Regions from separate parts of the Homo sapiens genome. Here all the other regions are linked to region 6. The links are contacts of gene promoters, found by promoter capture Hi-C in human tissues and cell types (Jung and others, 2019). All regions are on one chromosome and are shown on one strand. The core of a region is centred on a gene start or on the middle of the fragment in contact, and the rest is flanking DNA. Distances in the headings are between cores, read along the strand shown.

Region 1 (2,791 bases), core at 24-2,523, 500 kb after region 6:
CCTAACTACACCGCTTAGGGCAGGCAACAGGACATTCAGTGAGATCTGGGCACATTCAGAACCCCTTCTACGCAGTGATGCTACAAGCTGTCATCATCCCCTCACCGGCTCCTCCAAGCACCAGGTGGGATGTTGGCATCAGTGGACAGCATTGGCCAAGTTTGGTATAAATAATGTCTACAGACCAACGTGCAAGCTGGGAACGCAGGTGCTAAAGTCAAGTTAACGAGGCCTTGTCTCCAAAACACCGGAACATCTGGGTGAAAAGGGAAACGCTTCCATCTGTCACCCTGCTTCCTTGGCTCTTTGGAAGCAGCTGGCCTGTGGCTGGGATGTTCCAGTTTCCAACTGGGTGGGAGCTCCAGCCAGAGCAAGAATAATTAGCATTATCATGAGGCCAAGGGAGAGTTTTCATGTGCACAGTTTTCGTTCTGGAACATTCCTAAACAAACAAACAGAAAAACCTAGCTTATGAGCCAGGCTTGGTGGGCCAGAACTCGTCTCCCCAGGCCCCCATTCCTTTCCCATTCTGTGAACTGTGCACTTCCTTTCCCTCAGCAGGAGTGGCTAAGCAGAGGCCTCGGGGAGTTATCCTCAGTGGCCAGCCGCTTCCTCATACGCAGCGTTTTCCATTGTGGCTTAAGCACATGTCACACAAACATGAAGCAGTCACCTTCTCCAGGTGGTACCAAGCAAGGCCCACCTTTGTCCTCCATCCCGTGGTCCAGACTGACCTGAGACTTTTCATGGAGAACTGGGGGGCCAGTAGCTAACCAAACCCTGTCCCTTTGATCACCTGTCAACCCGCAGCTTCTTAATCCAAAGGCCCTTCTGCTTCTCACATCCTCAGACCTGCTCTGCCAGGTACCCCTTGACTGACTTTCTCGGGCAGCCTTCAACTCTCTGAGTGCACTGAGCAGAGGAGGGCACATTCCACAGGGCTGGGATGCTGAAGGCTGCGGCGGGTGGAGGGTGCTTTGTTTAGAGCATATAATTTCTGTGTTTCCCAAGGTAGCAAAGTCCAACCCATTCCCCAACTTGCCTGCCAGCCCTGAACACGAAGATTCTCGGATTAGGTGGATGAGGAGATTCCATTATAGCCAAATGAGAGACATGTGAGGTATCTGAGGACCAGCCATTCACACCAGAGGTTGGAGGTGGGCTTCTTAGAATGCAAAGTGTGTCTTCATATTTCTGTGTTTGTTGATGCAGCATCCAGTCATAGCATCCAATCTGCAGCCTTCTGGGGGTGTTCTGGTGCAAACCCTGCATGCCTTTTGTGCAGTGACTTCATTGGAAAGTACATCTTTGGCTGCAGCAGTGCTGGAATGGCTCCATTTCCACAGCCGGTCTCTGAAGCTTAATGGCCACGCAGCCAGGGCCACCATCGCAGCCAGCATATCTCCTCCATTTGTAAAAGGCAGCCTCCTCTAATCAAGAGAGGTTATTTTTTGGGTAGGGAGCCATTGCTGAAATTTTTATTTAAAATATGTGTAAGCTTCCTCCAAGTCCAAACTTTCTAGGTGAATTACCTCAAGCTGACGGTTTTGAAATAAACTAGAGGGTTTCAGATATTTTAAGAAAAAAAAAAAAAAAAAAAGCAAATCTTAATCCAAACCTCAGTATATAAAACAGAGCAACAGATAGGGACTGTTTGGGCTAAAGCTGGGTCAAAGACTACATCCTACCCACTGGGTTGCCCTATCTGTTTCAAAAATAACCCCAGGGTCTTCAGAAGCCAACTTGAAAACCTCTGATACAGCAAAATGTGACATGCATGCTCCATCCTTGAGCTAGAGCTCTGCTGTCTAATCTGGCCATGTAGTCACAGGGCACCTGAAATGTGACCTGTCTAAATTGAGTTGTGCTGTAAGTATAAAATATACACCAAGTTCTGAAGACTTGGTATGGGGGGGAAAAGCACATAAAATATCTCATTAATCGTTGTATTTGTTACATGTTGAAATATATAGTACTTGGAGCCGGATAAAATATATCATTAAAATTGATTTTACCTGTCTCTTTTTAGCTTTTTTAACATGGCTACTAGAAAACATGCACCAGTAAAATCACATGCAGGGCTGACATTTATGGCTTGCATTATGTGACTGTGGAGCTAGTGGAGGCTTCCTTGGGGGTGCAGGACCATGTCAGGATCCTGGTTTCACTAGGGCAGGTTCCAAGGGTGAAAAGAGGCTTTAAAGCAAAGCACCTGGCATTCGCTTCTTAGGCCAGATCCAACCCATCTAAGCCTGTGACATGATCTGATGCTCACACACCAATCTCCCTTCACCTACTTCTCTTTCCTCTCTACCTGCTTGGATCAGCCTGGGCCCCCAGCCTGCTGGGAACTCCCTGACTGATCACCCTTTTGCCCTCAGCCAGATTCTTGGCAATCCCAACAGCTGTAAACCTTGTCTTTCTCCTCTCCTGCTTCAAGCCTGACTGTAATGGCCACATCCTGAGGGGTGGGAGAAGGGTCAACAAGGAAGTCACACACGTGCTGCTATGGACCACAAGCCATTCATTCATTCAGCGAAAAGTAGTCATTATAAATAGCATTTACTGAGCACTTAGTCTATGAAGGCATTGTCCTAAGCACTTTCCATGACTTAACACAACAAATATGTATTGGGCATCCCTGAGGCACTGTGCCAGGTGCTAGAGAATCAGCAGTGAGCAAGAGAGATGAGGACCCAGCCCTCATGAGGCTGGCAGACTCGTGGAGTCACAGGCAGAGGAAGGGAGAAATGAGGGAAGGGAAGGGAAGGGGAAAAGGGAAGGAAGGAGG
Region 2 (2,806 bases), core at 88-2,587, 370 kb before region 6:
GCCTTGGAGGAGTGCCCAGAGGGCTCCCCTCTAGAATTCTAGCACTGTGCCATAAGTAACCCCAGATGCAGGTCCCCTGGATCTTCACAGAGCAACTCCAAGCCCACCCCCAGGACACCACGTGGCAGCCACAGGGGCCAACCTCCACCCTCTGGAGGAAACCCCCTGGTATTTCTTCATGGCCTTTAGTTCCTTAGAATGTGAGCCCTGGTTCCTATGAGCAGGAGGAAACGGAGAGAGAAGAGACAGGACAGGACAGAGGGGAGAGAGAGGAGAGAGGGGAGAGAGAGAGGATAGAGAGGGGACAGAGGAGAGACAGATGGGAGAGAGGGGAGAGGGAGGGAAGAGAGTGGAAGAAGAAGAGGGGGAGAGGGAGAGATGGGAGTGGGGGAGAGAGGAGAGAAAAAGAGGGGAGGGAAAGATAGGGGAAGAAAAGAGAGTGGAGGAAAAGGGGGGAGGAGAAGAGAGGGGAGGAAATGAGAGGGGAGGAAAAGAGGGGAGGAAAAGAGAGGGGAGAAGGAGAGAGGGGAGTCGGGGAGGAGGAGAGAGGAGAGGAAAAGAGGAGAGGAGAAGAGAGGGGGGGGAGAGGGAGAGAAGAGGGGGGAGAGGGAGAGAGGAGGGGGGAGAGGGAGAGAGGAGGGGGGGAGAGGGAGAGAGGAGGGGGGAGAGGGACAGAGGAGGGAGGAGGAGAGGGACAGAGGAGGGAGGGAGAGAGGAGGGAGGGGGGAGATAGGGAGAGGAGGGAGGGGGACAGAGGGAGAGAGGGGAGAGGGGGAGAGGGAGAGGGGGAAAGGGGGAGAGGGGGAGAGGAAGAGAGGGGAGGGGGAGAGGAAGAGAGGGGAGGGGGAGAGGAAGAGAGGGGAGAGGGAGAGAGGCAGAGAGGGAGAGAGGGAGGGAGAGGGAGAGAGGGAGAGGGAGTGAGAGAGAGGGAGAGAGGGGAGAGAGGGGAGATGGGGAGAGAGACAGAGAGGGTTGCATTCATCACAAAGACAACGGTAAGCAGAGAAGAGGAAGCCTGGCCCAGCTCAAACTCCCAACTTCCACAGTAGCTGAGTGTGGTGGGGGAGACAGGCAGAGGTCATTGGAAAGGCCCAGCGGCATCTCCCTCTTGCTTTCCTGGATCCCAGCAGTTACTTGGTGAATGTTCCTGTGGCTCTTGAAGCCATCCCCAAGTCCCAGCGATAACATCCGTGACAAGGAGGGTCCCTTGAGAACTCCCGCTGTCCCCACTCCTGTGCACCATTAATACTACTACTACTAAGGATATTAGAAATAGCCACAGTCCCCGTGGCTCTTGTCCTGCCTGAGGCACGGTGATCATTCCACTGAGTGCTCACCTCAGCCCCACGGGAAGAGGCTGCGTGGTCGCGTCCACTTTTGAGATGAGCAAGCTGAGGCTCCGTGAGTTCCGTGGCTGCCGCCCAAGGTCATAGAGCGAGGAGAGGCAGGACTAAAGTCGTGCAGCGTGGGAGCCCATGGCCTTAACGCCCGTGGAGCCGTGTTCACCCGTCTCATTTACTTTATTCACTTGGCCCCTTGGAGGTGCCAGGCCTGGGAGTGCTGGGGTCTGTGCTCTCTGGGGTGACTGTCCACTGGGAGGAGACCCACCCGCCGCAGCAACTACGTGACTGGAAACACAGCAGGTGGGGCCCATCTTCCTAGGAGGAGTCACGAGGAAGGCCTGCCTCCTGCACTAGAGTGGCTGCACCTGAAACCAGGAAGCCTCAGGCTCCTGACAGCCCCCAGGCTTGGTGCTGGGAGTTACGGAAGCCAAAACCCAGCCTGTTCATATTGATCTCAGCTTTACCAGGTGATGCAATGAATACCTTTGTATAATTGTGCTTGATTGAGGAGGAAATGGGCTTTTATCACAAAAGGCAAAGATCCGATTTTGCATTTTAATTTCAAAGTTTTCTTCATCTAAAAGAGCAAAACAAAAAGCCTAAAGGGGGTATTTAGGATGAGGCAATAAGTGGTAAGCTGAGAGTGGAGGGTGCGCACTCCAGGCAGACAGAAAAGCAGGTAGGACTTTGCGGGGCCCTGCTGGGTGCACGCACGCAGGCATGACCGGTCGGCCCCGTGTACACAAGGCAAATGAGGCACAATGGCACTGCAGAAAATGCCCAGCAACAAGGCCACCCTGTTCTAAAGTGGGCACGATTCAGGCCTGGCCTAGGGTCTGAATCCCTGCCCTGTGACCTGGGAAGTTCTCAGACCTGGTGTCCTCATCCATCAAGTGGGGCAGCCGCGAGAGTTCCATGAAGCCCAGTCGGCCCAGAGGAATAGTGGAGGAAAGCCGCATGAGGGTTGGGAACCGTCTCCTCCCCAGGCTTCCATCCTTTCTGGCCCCATCCACCACCCCAGGCCTCACCTGTCACTGACAGCAAGCAGAAGACACACACACACCAGGGGCGTGCACTGGGTTAGATTCTGTGATGAGAAAATTGCTGCCACCTTGATCAATAAATGAAGCCATGGCTGCCAGGCGCAGAGCCTGGGCGATCCAGAGCAGGGGAAAAGGGCCTGTTCCCCAGGCTGTCAAGCTCCTCATAGCTAGGGAGAATCTCAGGCCACATCTCAAGAGGGGCAAGAACTAGCCAGGCTCCTACTTCTCCCCATGGACGAAATTCACCTCCACGTGTCCATATGCCAGCTGGATGGCACTGTGGGACTCCCCCAGGGCTGTGCTGAGGTCCAAGCCAGCCCCAAAGCATAGGAGAGGTCCTTATGGCTGGGTCCACCTGTCCACACGGCTCACCAGAGAGGTGCCCGTTGCCCCATTGTTGAGACCAGGCTGATACTGCTC
Region 3 (3,197 bases), core at 57-2,556, 340 kb before region 6:
AGTGTCAGGCCCTGGAAGTGGTCTTGGGGATGCGTGAGTAGGGAATTCCAGCCCCTGAATACCTGGAACATGGTCTTGAAGAGGGAGCATATGGCTTTGAGTCCCAGACTCTTACAGTGGGGTGGGAGGCATGGCCAGAGTGGCGTCAGAGGCAGTCCTCTAACCCACAGGGCCCAGAGTTGCAGTGTTTCTTACCCAAGTCTAAAGGCAGATTACTGGATCCTCAAAAGAGAGGGCAGGTCTTTTACTTCTTTTTTACCCACCATGGGCCTCACACAAGGCCAGGCGAACAGATTATTGATTGAGCAACTGGTAATTCATGGTGAGATCATTCTAGTCTGGCGAGACAGGATTCTTTTCACCCTAAAGAGTTCAATAACCACAAAAATCACTGAAAGAATCTCCAACATTCTTCAGCATCCACTATATACGTGGTATCAATGTAAGTGTCACAGGGACACAGAAAGGCACATCCCTATGTGTCCATGCCTTCAGGAGTTATATGCTGTTGGACTACGAAAACAGGTAAAGGAAAAAAGGCCAGTAGGTACAGGTATGTGCAAGGTACACACAGAGACACATGACCTGGTAATACTGCTCTTATGTTACATGATGATCACTTCACCCTCTCAACAACTTCCTGGTCGACAAAAGTGTGGCTGGACAAAGCAAAGGAGATACTGCATGGAAAATACTTAGCAAAGTGCCATAAGCAAACAGTAGCTACTATTGTTATTTATCTGGTCTGGGAGGTCAAGTGAGTTGTATCAGAAAAGTCCCACCTACTAAGCTTGGCATTTGAGATGTTTGACTTAGCAATAAAGAAGGGTAATAAGGAGCCCAAGGCCACAGGTCACCTCATTCGACACCACCTTCTCACCGAGCTCTGACGCCAGATTACCAGCTCATGAGCACTTCTATTTCAGTAGTGATAACGTACTCATATCTCATGAGCATTCATATTTCATTTGTGGCCTGCTTCATCGCTGGCTGTTTACTGAGTAGTGAACAGGAAAGACCTAACGGTGGACCATGAACGTGAAGTGAAATTGGCGGAGAACCTTTGACCAGCATGCCCTGCCCAGTGGCTGGGGCCTACCGCTCTATAATACAACGGGGTTTTCAGAATACAATCCTTTATACAAGTAGGCAGCTCTTCCATCTGTTCATGTCTCAGTTATAAAACAAAGCTCCATGCAAAAGAAAAGCAGGTGAGAAGATTAATCCAAATATCCTTAGAAAAAACAAAATGCCCTCCAGCACACTTACATACGCAATCTCTGGTGTTGTGTGTGTTCATCCAATAAATTATCACTCAACTTATGTATTCAGAACATTCATTATTTGATTGGTGTGGTGACAACAGAGTCTTTTTTATCAAATGTTTCTTATTTGTCACGTTTTCCCAAACATCATGTATAAGTGTTATTAAATATTAAATTCCCCAATCTCTCATATTCATTCTTCATCTGCAACACCACACTGAAAACGCTTTATTTCTCTCTACAAGAAGTTTTTAAATAAGGAAAGCTGACTTTTGTTTTAAAGATTCTGTTTTTAAGTTCCGTGTTGCCTTTTCATGAATGAATTAACACTCTCCATCTTTCTGATCAGGAGACTGGCCTGTATATCTGAAGTTTAAAGAAGAGACACAGATATTCCCACTGACCAGATTCTAAATTCTTAGGAAAGCTTATCAAACTGTCATTCCCTATTGAAAACCCAGTTTTTATTCCACCCCCCACAACTGAATAGCATTCAACAAATATTTGCCAACTGCTTTTCAACATGCAGGCGCTGGACTAGACTCCGGGTAAAACTTATGTAAAGACAGACAAGGGGCGGGGCCCTGCCCTGCACACATACACTTTTAATCCAGTACTGAGGTCAGCAAATTGGCATTTTTGTCAGCTTTTTTCAGTCAACAGTGTTTTGTTTTTGTTTTCGTTTTGAGACAGAGTCTCACTCTGTCGCCAGGCTGGAGTGCAGTGGCGCAATCTTGGCTCACTGCAACCTCCGCCTCCTGGGTTTGAGCGATTCTCGTGCCTCACCCTCCCAAGCAGCTGGGACTACAGGCACACACCACCACACCCAGCTAATTTTTTTGTATTTTTAGTAGAGACAGGGTTTCACCATGTTGGCCAGAATGGTCTCAGTCGTTTGACCTCGTGATCCACCCCCTCACCCTCCCAAAGTGCTGGGATTACAGGCGTGAACCATAGTGTTTTTTGTTAAATCCGGAAATTTCACATAAACATCCCGATTTCCAGCTTTTCTTGAAGAATTGGAAGTTGTGCTAATACCAACCTCATATTCCAGCATGGCAGCCGGGTAATGATCTCAGAGACTGGGCGTAAACCCTCCATTCTGCCCCAGTCCCCACCATTTTCAGTAGTTTTATACCTGGCCCCCTTCGCTCATCTTTTTTATGTGTCTGGCCCTCAGGAGCATCTGAGTTTACAACTCCTAGTCTAGTGGTTTATTCCATAAAGCGAAGGCAGATAGGTCAGATGACACATGAACAAAATGAGTACCTGATACTATTTTCCTCTTTACAGATAGAGGCGTTGTTTCATTTAAATAGAGGTGTTGTTTTCATTTAAAAAGCCCAGCTGGTGACTTGAGTGTCTCCCCAACAAATAGAACATGTTCATGTCACACTTAGGATACATGTCAAGTTGATGATCTGCTTCCTCGGTTCACATTTTTCCTTCTGAACTGGGAAAGCAGAGGCAATATTGCCTTTTGGCCCAGGGGACATATTGTACAGAAAGCATGGCTCTGTGACTTGTCCTGTGGCCAAGAGGAGGAGAAACAACTGTTTCCCACTGGCAGACAGTCAGGAGGCAGCCCCCAGCTGCCAGGCACCAGCAGTCATTGGATACTACCTCCTGCCATTCCCTGGAGAAACAACTTCTAGACCCTCGCATGCTTTCTAACTACAGCTCAATTTCAGACTTTATTACATTCCCTAGAAGGCACCACTCATCAACTCTCCCAAGCTTAGAAATGTCTGCCTGGGCAGGGAGGAAAATGTCAATCACCTTTATTTACCATCTGTAATCTGAACCAGTCAGAACGTGGCTCTAATGACTAAGACAGGGTGAAATAGAAAGATTAATCCAAATACCCTTAGAAAAAACAAAATGCCCTCCAGCACACCTACATATGCAATCTCTGGTGTGGAAGTGGCTGAC
Region 4 (3,099 bases), core at 502-3,001, 300 kb before region 6:
CTTGGCAGCACCTGAAAGTTATCGCCCTTTCCGTGACAGCAACCCAGTGATCTAGAAGTTGCCACCCTTTCCTAGAAATTTCTACATAATCTACCCCTTAATTTGCATATAATTAAAAGTGAGTATAACTATGACCACAGAACTCTGAGCTGTTGCTCTAAGCTCACTGCCTATGGGGGAGCCCTGCTCTACAAGGTGCAGTCCCTCTGCCACTGCTGTGCACGGCCCCTTCAATCAAAGCTGTTGTTGAACACCACTGGCTCACCCTTAAAGTCTTTCCTGGGCTAAGCCAAGAACCCTCCAGGGCTAAGCCCCAATTTTGGGGCTCTCCTGCTCTGCAGCATCACCAGGCCTATAGCTCAACACCACAGTCATTTTCAGTTTGAAATCACTCTGGCCTCTGTTGATATGGCTGCTCTCAACTGGTTGAAGACAAAAGGAATCGACAAACTAAAACCCTTTGGGAGGACCGGGCACAGTGGCTGACACCTGTAGTCCCGGCAGTTTGGGAGGCTGAGGCAGGCGGATCACCTGAGGTCAGGAGTTCAAGACCAGCCTGACCCACATGGAGAAACCCCATATCTACTAAAAATACAAAAATTAGCCATGCATGGTGGTGCATGCCTGTAATCCCAGGTACTCGGGAGGCTGAGGCAGGAGAATCACTTGAACCCGGGAGGTGGAGGTTGTGGTGAGCCAAGATCGTGCCATTGCACTCCAGCCTGGGCAACAAGAGTGAAACTCTGCCTCAAAACAAAACAAAACAAACCCTTTGGGAAAACAGATTAACATGGAAAAGTACAAACAGTATACACCCTCCACACTTTGAGGAGTCTAGGGTGGCTTTCAGCTGCCTGCCATGCATGCAGATTTCCACATTTTAACTCTTGTTTTAATTTTTTCCAAATGTTCTTTATTGTGGAATATCTGATAATATAAGTAGTCTTTAGGGGCTTCCTACAGCTGACTCTTAATAAGATAAACTGAAATAATGCTGACCACTTCTAGGTGCCCGGCATTGGCACACAGTATCTATAATACACAGCAGCAAGGAAGATCATAGTATCCCTTGTTTGCAGATGAGGACACTGGCTCAGAAGGGCTCAGTGGCTTCACTAGTCTTACGAGAGAGGGTGGGTCTGGAGATTTGGACTCAGCAGTTGTCAGCAAATGGATTGCATTTAAAGCTTCAGGATAAGCTTAGCCTGGAAATAAATGTGGATGGAGAAGAGATCTGAGGCTGAGACCTGAGGTGATCCAAAGTTTAGATCCAGAAAGAGAAAGAAGATCCAGAAAAGGGGACTGAAAAGGAGAATCCACCTGTGATTCAACCCCTCTGGGCCACGCTCCCCCGATGAGTGTAGCAGACTCCAGTGGCTACTCCACATTCTCAACAGCTATTTATCCACGGGCTTATCTGTTTGCTCAAAACACTTATTAAGAAGTGAGCAATGGGCCAGGCACTGCCAAGATGCTCACTGGCTAGAGAAGGAGGCTGGTAGAGCAAAATCATTAGAATACTCATAATCGTCCTACAACGTGCTCAGGATGGGCAAGCTTCAAATGGGGATCAATGCAAACCCACTTGCCAGGTCATTTATGCTAATATAGCCAGCCTGACTACATTGATCAGATTAGCCCCAGTAAATAAATAAAGCCACTAGGCAATGGCAACACACAAACTAGTGAAAACAATCTAGAAACCATTCTCAAGAAGTTTGTAATCTGGTGGAACAGTGAGACAGGCACAGAGAACATGGATAACACAAAAATATGGCAAATTCAAAGAAAGAATGCATGAATACAGTAAAAGTTCCTGAGGGCATGCCCAAGAATAAACCATCAAATATATGTGAAATTGATTTTCAACAAGGATGCCAACCCATTCAATAGAGGAAAAGACAATCTTTTCAACAAATGGTCCTGGAAAAACAGGATATCCACATTCAAAAGAATAAAAGTGGACCCTTAGCTAACACCACATACAAAAATTAGCTCAAAATTGACCAAAGACCTAAATGTAGGAGCTACAATTCTGAAACTCTTAGAAGACAACATATGGAGAAAGCTTTTTCCATGCTAAATCCATGACAAAGGATTTAGCAATGATTTATTGACACCAAAGGCACAGACAACAAAAGAAAAAATAGGCAAATTGGACTTCATCAAAATTAAAAACTTGTGCATCAGAGGACCCATCAACAGAGTAATAAGGCAGCCCACAGACTGGAAGAAAGTATTTGCAAATTGCTTATCTCTTAAGGGATTAACATCCAGAATATGTAAAAAACCAAAATGCAACAACAAAAAAGCAAACTCAATTAAAATATGGCAAAGGATTTGAAGACTTTTCTCCAAAGAGTATGTACTAATGGCCAATAAGCACAGGACCAGACGCTCAACATCACTCCTTATTAGGGAAAAACAGATCAAAACCACAATGAGATACCACTTCACACCCATTAGGATGGCTATTATCAAAATAACAGAAAGTAACCAGTGTTGGTGAGGATATGGAGAAATCGGTACACTTGAGCACCACTGGTGAAAATGCAAATGGTACAGCTGCTGTGAAAAACAGTATGGCAGCTCCTCAGAAGACTAAAAATAGAATAATGACAGCCGGGCAGGGTGGCTCATGCCTGTAATCCCAGCACTTTGGGAGGCCAAGACGGGCAGATCACGAGGTCAGGAGTTCAGATCAGTCTGGCCAACATAGTGAAACCCTGTCTTTACTAAAAATATAAAAAAATAGCTGAGTGTGGTGGTGCGTCCCTGTAATCCCAGCTACTCAGGAGGCTGGCTTCCCGCCTGGCTTCCACAATTTAAAAAATACTTTTCTTTAAAAAAAGGGTAGTGGGGAAGCTTCCTGTCTTCCCCAAGAAAAGTTACCAAGGGCAATATAGCCAAGCAAGTTGATCTTTCAGAGCACTTTAGTTCAAAGCCAGAAAGGCATCCAGGGAAATCCTGAGTCTTTGAAAAAGTCATTAAGGCAAAGCATTTCTTCCTTCTCTTTGCTCTCCTACAGAGCATACCTGTCTTCGGTGACCCTGCTCAAAATCTTTCTCCCACCAGCTCTTGAAAGGGGAAGTGCGGCCA
Region 5 (2,793 bases), core at 53-2,552, 490 kb before region 6:
TGGCAGTACCAACAGCCAAGACCTGGGGCCCTCTCCTCCTGCCTCCAGGAGGCCTGATTTTCCCTTCCCTGCCTCCCTGCAGAAGTTCAAGGCTGTTCTTTATGAAAGAACTTACAGGTGGCCTCAGGCCCCCTGTTGAAGGTCATGGTATCTTCCCTCTTGTCCTTTCCCAGTCCAGGAGCACTCGGCCGTGACCCCCGAGAGATCCATGCCCTGTCATGCGCCTGCCTCTCAGCCTCTCCCCAGGCTAACTGCTGCAGTGCCAAGGAGGGCCCTGCCCTTTGCCTCTGTGCCCCCATTGCCAGGGTTTCCTGTTCAGCTGTGAAGGGCTCCCTCGATTGCTCCAGAGTCTGGAATTTGGGAACACTTCAAGCAGAAAGTTTATAATTCACCTCCCAATTCTTTCAGCCCTGTGAACTGCCTACTGCTTGAAAAACAAAAAACATCAAGTGACTGCTGATTATGGACTAGAACAGAAATCATGCAAATATTCTTACTTTGGCTAAGTTAAAATAGATTCCAAGGCACAGGCTTTGGCATGGCAGAAGCCAGGGCCCTCCATCCAGATTGGCTGTACCAGGTGACTTCCCTGAGCCCGCAGTTTTCTCACTGAAAATAATAATAATTGCTATTACTGTTATCAGCATAATAGCAGAATTTGTAAGCCCTTTGTCCTTCCAGCCTCTCTCAGAGGTAGGGTGGGGCAGCAGTTCTCTCACTGCTCATTAGAATCCCCTGGGGAGGTTTTAAAATGCAGATTCCCAGGCTACACTGGGACCAAGAGAGCCCCAGGATGGCCCAGCCGTCTGCATTTCTTCAAGCCCTCCTCTGTCCTTGGGTGGGACTATTGCCCACTGGCCTGTGTTTTCGTTCCTTGGAAATGGCCCCTCAGTTTTTTTTATGGGGACCCTACCCACTTCCCTCAGACACACGCACCTCAGGGTGTGACACAGGCCAGGTGGTCAGAGTCAACTCCAGGGGCTTGCAGGCCTTGGCCCTCACACTTGGGTTACATAAACCACTGCAAAGAACTTAACCGAAGCCAACATATGGCAAATTTTAAAACTATTAACTTCATTTAAGGAAAATAAACAACAACAATAGAGCCAGGTTGTCATGAATTGGAAGCAGATGCGTGGGGCTCTTTGTAGACTGCCTGCTCCCAACAAGATCATCCCTCTTCCCTCCCCATTCCCCTTCCCTGGTGCAAGCAGAGCTGCATCCTTAAGGAGGCTGGGCTCAGCCTGCCAGAGGTGGAGAGCCTCTGGACTCAGGAACCTCCGCCTGCCTCAATTTCCTCGTAATCACAGAACATCTGCTGCATGGAGCCTGCCCTGCATCCCTGGGGCCTGGCAGGGCCGTTAGTTACCATCTCATCTGGCAATGTCACAAACATCCTCATTCTCACTGTTGCAGCTGGTGTGAAGGGCTTGGGGACCTGGTGAGGGCTGGGCTGGCACCCAGGCCCCCTCCTGCCCCTGCAGCCCCAGCCGCTTGGGTCTGAAGCTGCAACTCTGAGTGGTGACATTTTGGCACCAGCCAGGGCCAAGAGCAGACACTTTGGTGACAGAGGAAAGGTTACGGCTCTGATGTTGGCTTTTTGAATTTTCTTTCTGGGCTCTCTTAGCTCTTGTCTGGTTTCTGGCTTTGGCGATTGGTTCTTCATGAGGTCTCTGGAGATGGCTTCTCTTCCTTCCCATGTGGCCTGTAAAATAGGCCTGGGCAGCCTCTTCATCCCAGCCCCTTCCCCTCCTTTCTCTTGATGTTGCCAGTCCTTACCCCCCAGGAGATGAGGCCTGCAGGTTGTGCGGGGTGGGCAGCCCCCGTGGTTGTGCAGCCTGCTGTGCTCAGACAGCCCATGCTTAGTTTAATGCTCTGCTGTCCTGTCTTCAAAATCTTCATACTTTGGGAGGAAGGGGGCAGGCATTTTCACGTGGCCCCGGGCGTGCAAATTCTGCAGCTGCCCTGAGAGATGAATCCATAAGCGAGGATAGAACGGGGGCGGCCCTATTGACTGAGGAGGAAGATTTCTTCTCCTCCCCTGGAGGGCAGAGGTCAGGGTGCACCACAGCCTGATGAAGCCATGCGAAGATGACCAGGACTGCTTGGAGTAGGGTGTCAGCCTCGGGTCCCCAAAACCCACTCCCGCCCCCTCCGAGGACTGACTAGTCAGGAGCGCAGGGGCTCGGATGGCCTTCATGGGGAAGACAGGTCAAATCCTCCTTCTTTCTCTTCATTGATCACTTTTCAAAATCATAAGTTGGTTCCCTGACATCCTCCAGCAGTGACCGATAGTGTCACTATGAACTCCTAAATGTAAACATATTGGATGAGTTTTGATCTATTTCGGTGAATCCATGGCAACGTATAGACCTATTATATATCCTCTTTCAAACATATAGATAAAATAACAATTCAAAACTTAAATACTGATTGGATATTTCATGATATTAATAATTTTTAATATTTTAGCTGTTAATAGTAACATGTGTGACCACCCTTATTTGGCAGATTTCTTATTTTTTAGTGCCATGTATTGGAATATTTATGGGTTAAATAAAAACAAAAAACAAAACTGCAACACATCTCCTGGGACCCCAGCCTCGGCCTCGGGAACCGGGTATTCTTGTGAGATGTTGGCCTTGGCACAGGGAGGCTGTAAGGTCCCTTCCTTGAAACCCTGGGGATTTGGGGGACATGTGACTTTTGAGCACTCAAGGCTCATCTCCTGCCAAAGCACAGGTGGGTGGGGGCTGTAGAGGATGGGAGACTTGGGGACACCGGGTCCCAGCA
Region 6 (2,763 bases), core at 81-2,580:
GCCGCCATCACACCACCACCCATGTTTATCAACGTAAGCCCCACTTCATCCTTTATTCCCTTATAATACCACTTCAAAATGCACCAGACATCCCCAATCTTGATTGTTGTTAAAAATGCAAGTTCCTGGGCCACGAGCAGTGGCTCACGCCTGTAATCCCAGTACTTTGGGAGGCAGAGGTGGGTGGATCACCTGAGGTCAAGAGTTTGAGACCAGCCTGGCCAACAAGGTGAAACCCCCTCTCTACTCAAAATTTTAAAAATTAGCTGGGCATGGTGGTGGGTGCCTGTAATCCCAGCTATTCGGGAGGCTGAGGCAGGAGAATCGCTTGAATCCGAGAGGCAGACGTTGCAGTGAGCCGCGATGGCGCCATTACACTCCAGCCTGGGCAACAAGAGCGAAACTCCACCACAAAAAAAAAAAAAAAAAAAAAAAAAAAAAAAAATGCAAGTTCCCAGGCTCCCGTCCAGACCAACTGTTGGGCCGTCTCCAGGGGAGGGACGTGAGAAGCTACATTTCAATCATGCGCCTCAGTTGGGTCTTTAGAGTAAGGTGGGGACACACTGTCCAGACTAGAGCTACCTGCCCTGGCTCTGCAGTCCCTGTCCTCAGGGTGGAACAGTGATCCCTCCTGGGCTTCCACCCCAAACCCTGGAAGGTCAAGGCCCGAAAATCCTTTCCATCAGTTTGCCCAAAAACAGATGAAATCAGCCCAAGGTGCTGAAGAGTACAGTTTATAAAACAGTAAAGCACATGTAGGAATGCCCTAAGTTCTACTTTTTCCTCATGATGCTGCTGTGAAGTTTTTCCACTTTATTTTTGTTTAAAAGTCTGTGAGCTCCGGACCCAACCCTCCACCTTAGCGTTGGTGTCCCGCCCGCCGCGGGGGTCGCAGGGCCGGCGCCGGGCCTGGCCGGAGCGAGGGGGTACTGGGGGCCTCGGGCCGCCCCGCGCCAGAGCCTCCGGCGCCTCACCCCCACCCCAAGGTCCTGCAGGCGAGGAGGCGGGGACCCCGGCGGCCGCGCCGCGGGACCCCGGGCGGGCGGGGGCGGGGCGGGCTGTGCTTGAACCACACGGTGACCGCGCGGGCCGTGCGCGCGCACACCCCCCGCACGCCCGCAGCCTCGCGCCGCGCGGCCTCTCCGGGAGTGGGGCCGGCCCGCCGGCGGCGGAGACGAACGATTCTCTCTAGGGTGCGCCCAGTGCCCCGCCTCACCTGGCCGCCGTCAGCCTCGTCGCCCCACTCGGCCGCGCTCCCGTAGTAGTCCTCGTCCATGATGGCGCCCGGCACGGCCCCCGCCATGCCCTCCCGCGAGCGAGCGCGGCGCATGCGCGAGGCGGGGACGGGCGGGCGGGCGCACGCGCGGCCGCGCGCCTCGGCCCGGGCGGGAGGCGGGGCCTGGAAGAAGGGGCGGGGCCTGGAGGAAGGGCAGGGCCGCGGGCTCGGCACTGGGAACAAAGGGGACCGGCGGAAGGAACGCCCCCAGTCGATCCCGGAGCGATGCCCGGGTGGACCAGGGGCTTAGCTCCGGAGAGAGGTTTCCCACTGGATTCGTGCACAGCCCCTCCCCTGCGGCGCCGGCTCTGCGAGCCCCAGTTTCCTCATCTGGCAGCTGGAAACAAATCCTTCCGGAAGTGTCCAGGACCCACGAAAGTGTTTTAATTTCTTTTAGTTTTGGTAAAAAGTACTAAACGCGACCGGGCGTGGGGGCTCACGCCTGTAATCCCAGCACTTTGGGAGACCGAGGCTGACGGATCACTTGAGGTCAGGAGTTCGAGGCCAGTCTGGCCAACATGGTGAAACCCCGTCTCTGCTCAAAATACAAAAATTAGCCGGGCGTGGTGGCATGCGCCTGTAATCCCAGGTACTCGGGTGACTGAGGCAGGAGAATCGCTTGAACCCGGGAGGCGGAGGTTGCAGTGAGCCAAGATCGCACCATTGCACTCCAGCCTGAGCGACAGAGCGAGACCCTATCTCAAATAAATAAATACATACATAAAAAGGGCAGGGCACGGTGGCTCACGCCTGTAATCCCAACACTTTGGGAGGCCGAGGCGGGCGGATCACCTGAGGTCAGGAGTTCGAGACCAGCCTGGTCAACATGGTAAAACCCCTTCTCTACTAATAACACAAAAATTAGCTGGGCATGGTGGCGGGCGCCTGTAGTCTCAGCTACTCAAGAGGCTGAGTCACGAGAACCGCTTGAACCCAGGAGGTGGAGGTTGCAGTGAGCCAAGATCACACCACCGCACTCCAGCCTAGGCAACAGAGTGAAACTGTGTCAAAAAAAAAAAAAAAAAGAAAAAGAAAAAGAAAGAAAGAAGAAAGAAAGAAAAGAAAAGAAAAAAGAAAAGAGAAGAAAAAGTACTGAATGCAGTGGAAAGTAGCATTTTTAATTTTTTATAAAGTGGAAGATAGGCCCACAAAGCAAAAGTGCCCAGAGCTGACAAAAATCTCTGGAGAAAGGACCTCTCTGGTCGTTGCCAAAGGGAGCAGCTGACGCTGTTGTAAAGCCCGCAGCTCGATTCCCAGCGTGAAGTAGGGGGTGAGAATATGACAGCCTCCTGATGATCACGGAAAGGTTTTTGTTTGGTTGTTGTGTTTTTGTTTTGTTTTAATTTTAGATTCGGTGCGTGTGCAGGTTTGTTACATTGGTATATTGCGTGATGCTTCTAATCCTTTCGGCAACTTTTTCAGCCTTTACCCCCCTCCACACCTTCTGCCTTTTGGAATACCCCATGTCTGTTGTTCCCATCTTTGTG
Region 7 (2,796 bases), core at 272-2,771, 370 kb after region 6:
TGATTGTGACCTTACGGATTTAAGAACCCAGCCGGGGTGTGCTTTCCGCCAGGCACGGGGGGCCACAGTGGCACCCTCTGCCCCTCAACCTGGCGGGGGACACAGGCACGCTTGGTGGCCAAGACTTCTGTCCCATTTAGGATTGAGGAGCAGATCCTGGGGAGCTAGCCAAATACTGTTAGCTGATCAGTGAAAGCTCTGGTCACTAGAAAAGAGAGAGGGAGGAAGAGGGAGGGAGGGAGGAAAAGGGGGGAAGGAGGGAGGGAGGGAGGGAGGGAGTCTTCCTCTCAAGCCAGCATGGGTCCGAAATCCAGCTCTGCCCTTTCTAACCATGAGACCTTGCAGGCGTTCCTCAAACCACGTTTGTGACACGAGAGCCAGTGACAGTTCCTGGCTTGCGGGTTGTTGGAAGGCAAAAAGGAAGCTACTGCTTTACAAACACACACTTAGGTCAGAGCCTGGCCCAAGGCTGGCACAGTGACTGTTTTACCATGGGGGAACGAGGCCAGGAAGGCATGGCAGGCAGGTGGCTCCAGGTGGGACCTGAGGGAGGCCTGCAGGTTCTGGCCGGGGGCTGTTGGCAAGAGTCCTGCCCCAGGCTCCAGCTCTCTGGAAGTGAATGTGTGTTCCCTCCATGCCCTGGGAGACACCAGGCTGGGCCAGAGCCAGTCCTGGCCTCATGGACTGTCTGCAGCACAGAGCATTTCCTAGGACCTCAGGGCCAGGAGCCCAGGCCTGTACTCATCACCTCTAGAGAGGGGGAAACTGAGGCCCAGAGAAGTCGTCACCTGCCCAGTTCAAGCTCAGTGTCCCCCACTGGCTGGAGACAGCCAAGAAACCCTGTGCAGCCCCACCTCCCTCCCCTGGCACCTCCACCTGGGGGCTCAGTGGCAGGGTGCATGCCACATGGTCTCCAGGCCTGTGCCCCATCCAGCCACGTCCCAGCCAGGCAGGGTGCTGCTGTGGCCATCCTCTCTGGGGACCGGGCAGAAGGAAGTTTCCACAGAGGTGCTCTGAGCTCACAGAGCCTGAGGGCCTCCCAGGCCTTGTCTAGTCGTCAGCTCTGATTAGTGCCACCTGTCCTGTTTATCCGGATTTGCTGCCTAATCAAATCCTGAGTCCCTTAGTCACCTTGCTTACGCGTCCAGAGGCAACAGACAAATTTTAGGAAAATGCTCCTTGCAGAGAAATGTAAGTGCCAGGGCCTGAGCAGTGTTGCATTCCTGTGCCCTCTGAAACCTCCCAGGCAGAGTCCTTTCCCTGGGTCCTGGGTAGGGGTTCCAGAAACTTCCCTGAGATATTGACACAAAAGGAATCTCTGCTGTCAGTGTCTACAGCTGTAAAATGGGATGGCAACCGCAGCAAATGACGAGCGCAGCCAAGGTCTCGGTGGGCTTCATCCCCACAACAAGCAGGTACTGAGGGCTGGCGGGGCCCTGGACTGGGAAGTGGCGGGCAGGAAGCAGGCAAGACAAAGCCCCCAGCCCATGGAGCTTGTCATCTTTCACGGGGAGAAGGACAGGAAACACGCACACAGAGAATGGTTGTTCGTGATTAGAGCAACACAAAAATGAAACAGGGATATGATGACGAGAAGACCTGGGGAGGGGAGGGGAGGGCGTGTGACGTCCACTTCACCCTGGATGGTCTGGGAAGGCCTGTCAGGGGAGGGGACGGTTGACTGGGGGACTTGGAGGCTGAGAAGGCCCCAGCCACGGGGAGAGAGTTCCAGGCAGTGGAATGGCCTGTGCTAAGGTCCTGAGGCGGGACAGGCTTGCTGTGTTCTGGAGCAGTGGGTGGCCAGTGGGCTGATGAGCAGGGATGGGCGGGCAGGCTGGACCACGTGGGGCCTCGTAAGGTCTCCGTGGGATCCCAGGAGAGCGAGTCTTCACTGTGGGTCCGGACCAGGAAAGCGAGGGGCTCACCGTCTGGGAAGTCGTGTGAAGGGGATAGACTCCTCCCTCCCCACCTCAGCCAGGTCAGGCATGGAGAGGGTAAGGGGGCAGCTGGCCGCAGTGGCCCAGGCTCCCTGCATGTGGAGCTGGGTTATGCATGGAGGACACGTTGCTCTGAAGTCAGTGCTCAGATAGGGGTGTTCCATAGAGTCCTGAGCACCCTGCCACTGTGCAAAGTGCTTCACGTGCTCGGTTGGTGCTCCTGCCCTAGGCTGGCACCCGGCCCCTCCTCTGGAGCCCAGGACAGCCCTTAGTGGTTGAGGCTAGAGCCAGACCAGATGCCCAGGAGAAGCAGTTAGGGGCCAACCTTGAACCTCACCCTTCCTTACAGTTTCCCCTCAATGAGCACCATTGACCCCCAAGTTCCTTGCATGTCATAATTAACAATCTTAATCAATAATAATCATAGCTTGCATTTACTGAGTGTTTACTGTGTGCCAGGCACTGAACTACACATACCACACAAATCAACCCATCTAATCTACACAAAACTGCACGAGACAGGTGCTCTAATTAGCTCTGCTTCCAGATGAGAGAAACTGAGGCACAGAAAAGTCAAGCAACTTGCCCAATGTCACACAGCTGGCAAGTGGCAGAGCCAGGAAGGGACCTCCAACAGTATGGCTCCTAAACCCAAGCTTGCAACCAGTCCTTCCTCTGTGACACCTGCTGTGAGTAGTAATAACAGCAAAGCAGCTGAAGTTTGCTGAGCACCTGCTGTGTTCCAGGAACCATCTTTGTAAGCTTTTGCCATTCTTCACCCCTGCAAGGAGGCTTTTAAGGCATTTTTTCCTAATAGCTCTCTCCGATGACACTTTAACGCCACAGGTATACTGGGTGT

The links. Contacts are between HindIII fragments. The study calls those that stand out against the background at their distance.
Region 1: a fragment that was not itself captured here is called in contact with the fragment with the promoter of NELFCD in region 6 in 1 of the 25 tissues and cell types used here (liver).
Region 2: a contact is called between a fragment that was not itself captured here and the fragment with the promoter of NELFCD in region 6, in 1 of the 25 tissues and cell types used here (small bowel).
Region 3: a contact is called between a fragment that was not itself captured here and the fragment with the promoter of NELFCD in region 6, in 1 of the 25 tissues and cell types used here (hippocampus).
Region 4: a fragment that was not itself captured here is called in contact with the fragment with the promoter of NELFCD in region 6 in 1 of the 25 tissues and cell types used here (thymus).
Region 5: a fragment that was not itself captured here is called in contact with the fragment with the promoter of NELFCD in region 6 in 1 of the 25 tissues and cell types used here (mesendoderm cells).
Region 7: a fragment that was not itself captured here is called in contact with the fragment with the promoter of NELFCD in region 6 in 1 of the 25 tissues and cell types used here (adrenal gland).

What each region holds. Positions count from the first base shown.
Region 1 is chr20:58,478,403-58,481,193 of GRCh38, reverse strand. All of the region lies in intron 1 of APCDD1L (APC down-regulated 1 like), which reads left to right. Among named protein-coding and RNA genes, the nearest start is that of APCDD1L-DT, 36 kb to the left of the region's middle. The HindIII fragment of the contact is 3,432 bases long and covers 1-2,791 here.
Region 2 is chr20:59,353,596-59,356,401 of GRCh38, reverse strand. No RefSeq gene overlaps it. Among named protein-coding and RNA genes, the nearest start is that of EDN3, 54 kb to the right of the region's middle. The HindIII fragment of the contact is 5,311 bases long and covers 1-2,806 here.
Region 3 is chr20:59,314,939-59,318,135 of GRCh38, reverse strand. The region is part of intron 2 of EDN3 (endothelin 3); the gene reads right to left. Among named protein-coding and RNA genes, the nearest start is that of EDN3, 16 kb to the right of the region's middle. RefSeq lists an enhancer at 1-187. The HindIII fragment of the contact is 4,742 bases long and covers 1-3,197 here.
Region 4 is chr20:59,282,967-59,286,065 of GRCh38, reverse strand. No RefSeq gene overlaps it. Among named protein-coding and RNA genes, the nearest start is that of EDN3, 16 kb to the left of the region's middle. The HindIII fragment of the contact is 4,109 bases long and covers 1-3,099 here.
Region 5 is chr20:59,465,600-59,468,392 of GRCh38, reverse strand. No RefSeq gene overlaps it. Among named protein-coding and RNA genes, the nearest start is that of PHACTR3, 140 kb to the left of the region's middle. The HindIII fragment of the contact is 3,378 bases long and covers 1-2,793 here.
Region 6 is chr20:58,979,823-58,982,585 of GRCh38, reverse strand. NELFCD (negative elongation factor complex member C/D) reads right to left here and starts at 1,330. Exons shown (of 15, transcript NM_198976.4): 1 at 1,217-1,330. The coding sequence starts at 1,276. RefSeq lists an enhancer at 572-1,072 and a silencer at 995-1,474. The HindIII fragment of the contact is 13,643 bases long and covers 1-2,763 here.
Region 7 is chr20:58,609,618-58,612,413 of GRCh38, reverse strand. All of the region lies in intron 6 of APCDD1L-DT (APCDD1L divergent transcript), which reads right to left. Among named protein-coding and RNA genes, the nearest start is that of LINC01711, 24 kb to the left of the region's middle. RefSeq lists an enhancer at 1,914-2,415. The HindIII fragment of the contact is 6,289 bases long and covers 1-2,796 here.